Linked DNA regions of Homo sapiens: regions 2 and 3 are each linked to region 1. The links are contacts of gene promoters, found by promoter capture Hi-C in blood cells and fetal thymus (Javierre and others, 2016). All regions are on one chromosome and are shown on one strand. Each heading gives the region's core, a stretch centred on a gene start or on the middle of the fragment in contact. The rest is flanking DNA. Distances are from core to core; before and after follow the strand shown. Region 1 holds the start of RNF32 (ring finger protein 32). Region 2 has its middle 11 kb from the start of SHH. Region 3 holds the start of RBM33 (RNA binding motif protein 33).

Evidence for each region. Contacts are between HindIII fragments. The CHiCAGO score rates a contact against its expected background, and 5 or more counts as called.
Region 2: a contact is called between a fragment that was not itself captured here and the fragment with the promoter of RNF32 in region 1, in 2 of 17 cell types (M1 macrophages and endothelial precursors). The highest score is 5.5, in M1 macrophages.
Region 3: the fragment with the promoter of RBM33 here is called in contact with the fragment with the promoter of RNF32 in region 1 in 10 of 17 cell types (total B cells, total CD4 T cells, fetal thymus and 7 more); the score reaches 9.9 in total B cells.

Annotation. Positions count from the first base shown.
Region 1 is chr7:156,639,240-156,642,191 of GRCh38, forward strand. RNF32 (ring finger protein 32) reads left to right here and starts at 1,535. Exons shown (of 9, transcript NM_030936.4): 1 at 1,535-1,572. It overlaps RNF32-DT (RNF32 divergent transcript), which reads right to left and starts at 1,296. Exons shown (of 4, transcript NR_026865.2): 1 at 1-1,296. RefSeq lists an enhancer at 966-1,557 and a silencer at 1,126-1,435. The HindIII fragment of the contact is 15,348 bases long and covers 1-2,952 here.
Region 2 is chr7:155,822,161-155,825,043 of GRCh38, forward strand. No RefSeq gene overlaps it. Among named protein-coding and RNA genes, the nearest start is that of SHH, 11 kb to the left of the region's middle. The HindIII fragment of the contact is 7,243 bases long and covers 1-2,883 here.
Region 3 is chr7:155,643,147-155,645,934 of GRCh38, forward strand. It overlaps RBM33 (RNA binding motif protein 33), which reads left to right and starts at 1,515. Exons shown (of 18, transcript NM_053043.3): 1 at 1,515-1,773. The coding sequence starts at 1,731. It overlaps RBM33-DT (RBM33 divergent transcript), which reads right to left and starts at 1,260. Exons shown (of 3, transcript NR_126344.1): 1 at 1,068-1,260; 2 at 322-458. RefSeq lists an enhancer at 454-1,408 and a silencer at 1,333-1,842. The HindIII fragment of the contact is 4,649 bases long and covers 1,263-2,788 here.

The DNA.
Region 1 (2,952 bases), core at 285-2,784:
AGTCCTAAGACTGCAAAGACCCTTCCTTTTCTTCTAGATCCAGTCTAAGTTGGTTGGTAATTTCTTTAGACCCTGCTTTCAGGGAAGTTTAAAAAAAATTACTTGCATTTGTATATTTTCCTTGTATTTTCGGCCAAATTTCTTCTAATTAAAGTACAACATAAGTTGAACCAACACAATAATTGTCATATTAAGAAAAGATAAAACAAACTTTACTCATTTCTGCTTCTGGGCATGGAGTGTGAGGGACCAGACTTAAGTTCTCAAACAACTACAAAATCAGACCAAAAAATACAATGGTTTCCAGGCACCGGACGACAGGCAGTGCAGGGCTGTGATCCTTAAGAGAAGGGAAGCAGCGAGCCAGAGTATCCAGGCCACAACCCAAATGGAGGCCAAGAGAGGAACAGCAGAGGATACAGAGGGAGGGTTCCAGGGGCCAAGACGCAATCCGAGGGGAAGCCCTTCCGGGGAGAGCTGGAGTCCTGGGGTGGCCTTCTCGAGTCTTCCCGAGCAGGTCTGTGCAGCGAGGAAACATCCGAGGCTGGAGTGAGCCACGCGGAGGAGGAAGAACAGCCCGAGCTCACAGGGGCGGGGAAGAGTTCTAGCTCGCGACAGCCCCTGGGAGGAACCCTGCACTATTTGTGGCGTCGAGTAAAGCACCGGAAGGCTCTGCTCAGGAGCGTGAACGACACCGCCCGCTGCAAGCCTGGAAAGGAACGCGTTGCCTCAATTCACTCCGATGTGTCACACACGCGGCTCAGTCACCTAGGGAGCAGGAAAAGGCCAGCGGGCCACGCAGGGCTCACCCGGGCCTGCATCCAAACGCAAACGGCCAGGCCCACGAAGCAGGAAACACAACCCGCAACGAGAAGCAAAGGGATCCACAGAGAAGGGCCAGGAGTCACGGACGACGCCAGGCAGTCGGCGCCTGCGCTTCCGCGAGCCAAGACGCCTGAGCGGCGCGGGGGGATCGGGGGATCCCCCAGAAAACTGCCCTCGACTAACAGCGCAGCGAAGGGGCGGTGCGCTCGAGACCCTGGAACGGGAACGACCACAGCCACCGCAGGGAAACAACCGGGGCCCAGGCCCAGGTGGGCGGGCGGCTGAGGAGCGTGGCTGCGCCCACAAAGCCGCCGGGGGCTGCGGACTACAGCGAAGCCGGCGCGGGGCTCGGCCCTCACTACACGAGGCCTGGGCGCCTGCACGCCCCCGTGCTTCAGCCCGCGGCTCCCGAACACCCCCGCCAGGCGATCCCCAAAAACGCCCGCTGCGCGAGCCTCGACGGGAACGCACCTGCGTCTAGACGCTGACGCCGTGCGCGGGGCGGGGGCCGGCGAGCATGCGCAGTGTGGTGTGGACAGGGCGTGGTTGGCAAGCATGCGCAATGTGGGCCGGGCGGGGCTGGCGAGCATGCGCAGTATGGGGCGGGGCGGGGCAGGGCTGGTGAGCAAGCCCGCGGGGAGCGAGCGCGGAGGCGGGCGTTGCTACGGCAACGGTGGGCGGCCAGGGAGTTGCCTGAGGGAAAAGGGGCAGACGTCCCTGGGTTCCGGTGTTCGCGGAGGAGTCGAGGCACGGAGAGGCTTCGGGGGAGGGACGGAAAGAAGGGTGGCCCGCCAGGCGGGCGGGGTCCATGGATTCGGGGTGAGGGCCGTCCGCGGCCTCGCTTTCGCCTCCTCCGAGCCGGGCCGGCGATGGCCGCAGCTGTGAGGCGAGGTCGGGTCCCGTAGCGGCGCGCAGCCTCCTTGGGGGACTCGGGGTCCTGGTTAGTTTCCACAGCTCCTTCTATCTGAGGGGTACGAATTTACGGCTGCCTAAAGCCTTAGAACAGTGATCCCACGTCGGTAATTTTAGAACCCGGTAGGACCGGCTGCCATCAGGGGCCCCAGGTGCAGGGTGGTGTCAGCTTTGAGAGGAATTGGAGCCTCGTCACCGCGCGCTTCCTGCATGAGTGGAACCTCAGAAAACGGTCAGCGGGGTTCAGAAGGCAGGAGATAACACCAAGACCCTACGTAGGATTGCATCTTTACGTCGTAGGCTTGGTCTCGTGTATTTTTATTGAGCGTGTTTAATTAGCTGAGGTTACTCGCTTTGGCACCCCAGTGATCGTTTTTGCCACCAAGCTCTGCCTCTTGAGCGTTTAATACTGGGATTTACAAAGCAACGGGTTCCTGTTAATCTTAGCTTTCAATACTGGGCAAGGGTTACGTTTCTAACCCTACCAGTGCCGCAGGCTCATTATATATTGAAGGACTCACCTGGTATTTGGTTTTCTCATTTATAAAGTGGAGTTGGAGTAGGTACTTGAAGGGTTTTCAATACCTTTAAATTCTGAATTTTAAACTCTAAAACTTAATGATACCGTAGGACTTTAAGAGAGTATAGGTTTTAAAAGCTCTTACCTTGATATTAATGACAGTGGTCTACTGTGTAGAAACTTGAGATTAAATTGCAGACTGCAGCTATGACCGGACCATTTTTAGTGTGATGCAAACTGTATCTTCTGCAGGTTATAGGCATTTTGGAAGCAGGAACTGAGAAAATTCTGGCAGTGATCTTTCAGTATTTTAAATTCCACCATTTCTCCAAGTTCAGTTGTCTTGATGAGATACAGGGTGGAACTTATTTCAAACATCTCTTGATGCCAGAATTGAACGGGAACAGAAAAGGGCTGTAGTAAGAACCATCATCAAAGCCTCCAGGACTTGAGCAGCGACTGACGTTTTTACTTCTAACCCTGGATATCTCAGAGATTTGGTTCCACTGTGCTTTTCTATCTCTCCACTCACGCCTTAGTGAGTTTGTTCTTTCGGTTGGAGTAATTTAATACAAGTGTTAGTCCTTAGAAATACATTTTGGATTAATTTCTTTCTATTTTTAGAGTTAGGCCCTCAACACAGTAAGTCTTCACTTAACATCATCCATAGGTTCTTAGAAACTGGAGCTTTAAGC
Region 2 (2,883 bases), core at 76-2,575, 820 kb before region 1:
TTTATTCATAAACTCTTCATGAATCCAGAGAGGGGAGAGCTCAGATGTGTTCCTCTCCCTGCATTTCTGTCCCTTGAACTCGGATCTCCCATTTCAAGCCTGCAGATCCCCATGTCTCTGAACCAATGACTCAGTCCAGACCATGCCTTGTGACTCTGTCTCGCTTCTGCCCCCTGGTCCAGTGGCAGCCTCTCCCCCTCCTCTGTGCCTTTCCCACCTTCTCGACCTGTGGCCCTGGGGCTTCTGGCTTATCATGTCATAGCTGTTTGGCTGATGTGACCTCTGGATCATTGCTTATATTCATATTTCACTTTGGGGGTTGTTGTTTGACCTTTGACTTCAGGGTAGTTATTAGTATCCTCAATATATTTGCTAATTTCCAGAAGAAAGCCTTCAGAGTATCTGTCTTACACATCTCTGTAGGTCACACAGCTCCCAGCTCAGAAGATGCTCAACAAATATTTGTCAGTTACCAGAAGTTTCTTACTAATTAGCCAGTTAAACTAGTGGCATGTTATGGAATGAGTTTCAGTGGTTGCTATTTAAAAAGTAAACCAACACACCAAAACAAGCAAACAACAACAACAACAAATAACAACAAAAAACTATGGCAGCTGAAATATCAAATTCGGAATCCACGTAGCTTCTTTTCTTCCCAAGCAGAAGCTGCAAACTTGGTTTTCTGTTGTTCTGATGATAGCGTTGATCAGAGAGGGCCTGGAGGGAAGGTCGTTGTTTTCCTCCTATTTCAAGGTGTTGCACCTTTGGCCAAAGGGCCCACAGCACTGCTTGGAGGAACCACAGGGCTTCAGGACGTGACCGTGCACTGGGGCTGGAATCAGTGTCATTTCTCTGGAGCCAGTGGGTTTGAACTGTCTCGGAACCCTCGTTGAAGTCCACTATCTGCATGACTTTGGACAAATCTCTTCACCTCTCTGAACATAGTTCCCTATCAGCAAAATGGGGACAAATGTTTACTTCGTGGGTGTCATAGGATCCCCTGAGGTTTGGCAGTGAGTGTGTGATGCACAGCTAGAGCCTGGAGCCGAGGGTGTGCTCTGCAAGTGGCTTCACACCTAGACCAACTGACATTGCTTACAAATTCTCTTTCTGGGACTTTTGTGCCACTTAAGTTGGCACAAATACACTTAAGGCCAAAGGCAATTCAACGTAAAATATTCAACTGTTTTCAAACAGATCAGGCCACATAGCAGAGATCACTTCTTTCGTTTGACAAAAGAGGACATTCAATCGGACTGAGTTAATTTAAATAATGTTTCTTTCTGCTGGGGCTGTATTCCCCCTGCCCCTCCCGAGCAGCGAATGGGATGAGCGACCGTGAAGGCGTCACGTGGGAATCCTGATGGGACCTGTCCCATTAGTGTGTGCATGTCACTCACGGAGCGTCTACACTCTTAAAAATAACCTCATGAATTCTTTTATTTAGGGTGGAAACTCTCCACGGCTTTCTGGCTCTTTACACGTGAGGATTCTCTGCAGCAGTGCAAGGCAGCCTGAGGGTGAGGCGCCACTAATAATGATGTGTTTTCAGGGGGCGCCTAGTCCTCGCCATGATGCTGTGGGGGAGAGACAGACCACGTATTATTAACTCAATTTGACAGATGAGGAAATTTAGGTCTGAAGAGAGACTAAATGACTTTGCCTACAGTCACTGAGCCATGTCTCTCGCCCGTGCTCCACTGTTCTTTCCATTTCTCTGTCTTTCAACTCAGGAGCTGAGTGTGCTGCTGTGGGGTTACCTAGAACTCAACTCTCCTAAGCCTAATGCTCGAGCTGCCAGTGGTGTCTCAGGGCCCGGGCCTCGAAGTGCCCTCTCAACATGTTTCTTTGTCCTAGTGAAGACGGTTCCTGTGGTTTCTGCACGGACTTGTTGTTGGTGGGGTCTGGGCTGTTTTTAGAGCAGTTTATCCACAGAGAGGGGAGACCCCTAAGTGTCATCTTCCCTGGACAGTGCTCAATGTCATTTGTTTCCCCAGATGGGGAGTTAGAGGGGCCTGAAGGAGGTCGGGCTGGGGTGGGGGGCAGCGGGCGGGATGTCAAGAGAAACCTAAAGGCATGAGATCAAGTCAAACTCAACACTTCTCCTCTTGGCCTTTTCAGCGTGAGGATGGCTCACACCAAAGTACACAAGCCAACAGACTGAATCGCAGCTCTCTGTTTGAGCAGTGCCCACACAAAGCCTGCCCTCTGGAGTCCTCCTCCAGGCTCTACCCCGCCATGGTAACCGCTGAATTCGCCGGGCCATGGTAGCAGGCCAAGTATGTGCACAATTGTCCTGGAGTCTCTTCCAGTGGCAGACGGTGTTTGAATGTTGTGTACATGTTTTCTTTCTTATCCTGACATATTTATACCCTAGTTTTGTTTTATTTTGTTTTGTTTTGCTTGGTGGAGAAGCCATGGGGTTAGGAGGTGACGGAGTGGCTGGGAGAGCCTTTGTATCAGATTGGTTAAGAAGGCCGATCTACGGTTCCCAACATTCTACCACCAAGGGCTAGGAGAGTCATCTCCCTCCCGGAAACACACGTCAATGGGCTTGGACGCAATTTCAAGGCTGCATGCCAACGTGATCACGTGGCATTTTGATTCAGCTATTAAGGAAGAAGTAAGTATAAAGACTTCAGATACCTTAGGCAACAGTTCCATAAAGGAGGCAGTAAAACACGTAATTAGGCAAATCAAATAAGGCACGGCAACAGCTTTCAAATATTTAGTCACATATCATTTCCCATTAATTTACTGTGGGCTTAAATGAGGTCTGCATTTTTATAATCCCCTGTAAAGCTCAGAGGCATGGCAGAAGCGTGTGCTTTTAAACACGACTTCCTCACGCCGCAAGGTGTTATGACAATGATGGGATCATTT
Region 3 (2,788 bases), core at 265-2,764, 1.0 Mb before region 1:
AATAATTTTTTTGTTTTTTTTTGAGACAGAATCTCGCTCTGTCACCCAGGCTGGATTGCCGTGGCGCAATCTCGGCTCACTGCAACCTCCGCCTCCTCGATTCAAGCAATTCTCCTGCCTCAGCCTCCTGAGTAGCTGGGATTACAGGCGCGTGCCACCACGCCCAACTAATTTTTGTATTTTTAGTAGAGACGGGGTTTCACCATGTTGGTCAGGCTGGTCTCAAACTCCTGACCTCGTGATCCACCCACCTCAGCCTCCCAAAGTGGTGGGATTACAGGCGTGAGCCACCGCGCCCGGCCAGCATTTTATTATACGTACCGTTTTATCATCTCTTCACCCATCCACCAATGCATCTCCTGTATGGACGTCTTGATTGTTAACTCACGGCACTGGACCTCCAGTTTCATGCCTCTCCACATTGCAGGGTCCTCTACGTTGTTGTATCAGTCACCTTTCTAAAATACAAATCTTACCATGTAAATTGTTTCTAAAATCTTTCAATAGACCCCATAGACTCAGAAAAACGTCCCAAAGTCCGGAATCCTGGCCCCTGCCTACCTTTCCAGTTTCATTGCTGGGTCAGAACGCCTCACCTAAGCCCCACATTGACCGATATGGAATCAATGTTTACAGCCGGTGTGTACTTAATCAACCCCCTTCCCCGACTGCGACCACTCAGATGCGCCTTCCCGGGCCCCACACCCCAAAACCCCTGAGCCCTTTCGTCCACAGCTGTCTGACCACCCAGCACCCTTTCCTTTATGTCAAGTATGAGGATTTCGTTTCTTAACCTTTCTCACTGCTCAAAATGCAAACTCAGACATGAGTGCCGGGCGCTATCCGTCCTGCTCACGTCTTGTTCTCAGGGCCGCAAGGCGCAGGGGCAGTAAGGGCCGAGAGCCCATCAGGGTCCGGCGCTGCCCGCTGCCCAGCCGGGCGCGGAGAAGGGGACGGGGGTCCGGGGTCGCGGGTCCGGAGGGTCTCGGGTTGTAGGAAGTGAGGGCTCGCGGGCGCCGCACGAGTGCGCGTGCACGTTAGCCCGGCGCGCGCGGCACTCATCTCACCTCGCGGAAGCACCTGCCGGAGCTGTGTGCACCCTTTCCTGCCCTCAACACAAGCCGTCGGCGTTCACTACTGTAGCTCATTCAGACCCCACTCTCCAACCTACTGTCCAGGCACAGAAACGACAGTTAAGGTTCCCCCGGACCGTACGCTGGACCTTGCCTCCCCGGCTCCTAACGGGAGACGGGCTGCCGTAAAGCTTCGCTTTGCCGACTGCTGCAAAGCGCCTTACGACTGAACCCGGAATCGACCTATGGCCAGCAGTCGTCCCCGCCCTGCTTCAAACATTTGGGTTTCAGGAGCCGGGCGGAGGTGACTGCCGCGTGTTTGCGTTGCACGCCCACCGCCCGAAACACGGCGGCGGCCTCAGGGCTGCTGCGGCCTCGGCGGGGGCAGGCCCCGGCGCCCGCCCGCCTCCCGGCCTCCATCATCCCAGGGTGCACCGCGGCGGGCGCGGGCGCGCGGCCATGTTGCGGTAGTTTGTTGTTTTCTTCCTGCGGAGGCGAAGGGCCAGCTGTGGACCGCGAAGCGCCCGGCTTCGCCTCTGCCTCCTGCAGCCCCCTCCCTTCTCTGTCCTCCGTCACCCGTACCCGGGCCCGGACCAGGCACGTCGGCCCACCAGCTGGCTTGGTGGGGGAGGCTGAAGGCCGGGCCCCGCGAGTGCCATGGCGGCCGCCCTGGGAGCGAGCGGAGGAGCAGGCGCCGGAGGTACGTGAGGCAGCCGGACTCTGGGGGCCAGGACCGCGCCGCGGTGGGCGGGGGTGTAGGCCGGGGGGCCTCCCCGCTTAGGAGAGGACGAGGCTCTCCCCGGCTCCGACTCTCTTTGTGTTCGGCCTATTCCGTTTTCTCCCTCGCCTTCCCTCGCTATTGTCATTCTCCCTTTCTCGCTCCTCCTCTCCGCTGTGCAGATCGTACTTACCTGTGAACTTCTGTGTGTCCTCTACTTTGCAAGGCTGCCTAAGTGTCAGGCCCATCTCTGGCGTTGGCGGGCATTAAGTGCCGAAGCCGGCCTGGTGTCCTATGGGTAGGAGAGCGCCCCCCCCACCCCCCGAGACAGTGTCACTTAGGGAGAGCGGGGCAGGTCGCTGTAGGGTGGGTGTTTAAGATTGTGGGGCCATCCTGACAGATTTAGATTGATTTGAAGCCCATTACAAAAACATAACGAAAAGATTCACCTGTGTGAAGGAATGTGCGACAGTAGGCCAGTTTGGAAAGTGAGATTTCTTGAGAAAGTCTCAATAAATCCCTGTTTTAAATTAACTTATTTGTTGTCTAATAACCTGTTAGTGTTTTATGTGCGTCTTCCAAAAGTGAAAACGTGACACAAAAGGTTTAGATACTGAGTCAGTTCCTTTGGATAGTTTTTCTTGTTTGCAAGCATAAACAGTATTGATGAAACACCTATCTCTAAAAAATTGTAGGTAAATTACTTTCAGGTAAAATTACATATCACTGGGGGTTTTAAAAACGTGGAGAGATACTTGAAAGTGACTTTTTAAGTGATTATTTTGAAAACTTTGAAAAGATGGTAAAATATGGATAACAAAAGCATTTGGGATTAGTTCTTACCATTGAAACGTTGAAAAGCCAGTCTAGTGTATACTCGAGAAGTATTTTTTAGTAAATGCTAGCAGATGGTTACGTTGTTATCATCCTGTTTAGGAATTTTGGCCCAACTGTCAAAACGTTTGCCTGACAAAATGGAAAAACAAAAAAGACTAAG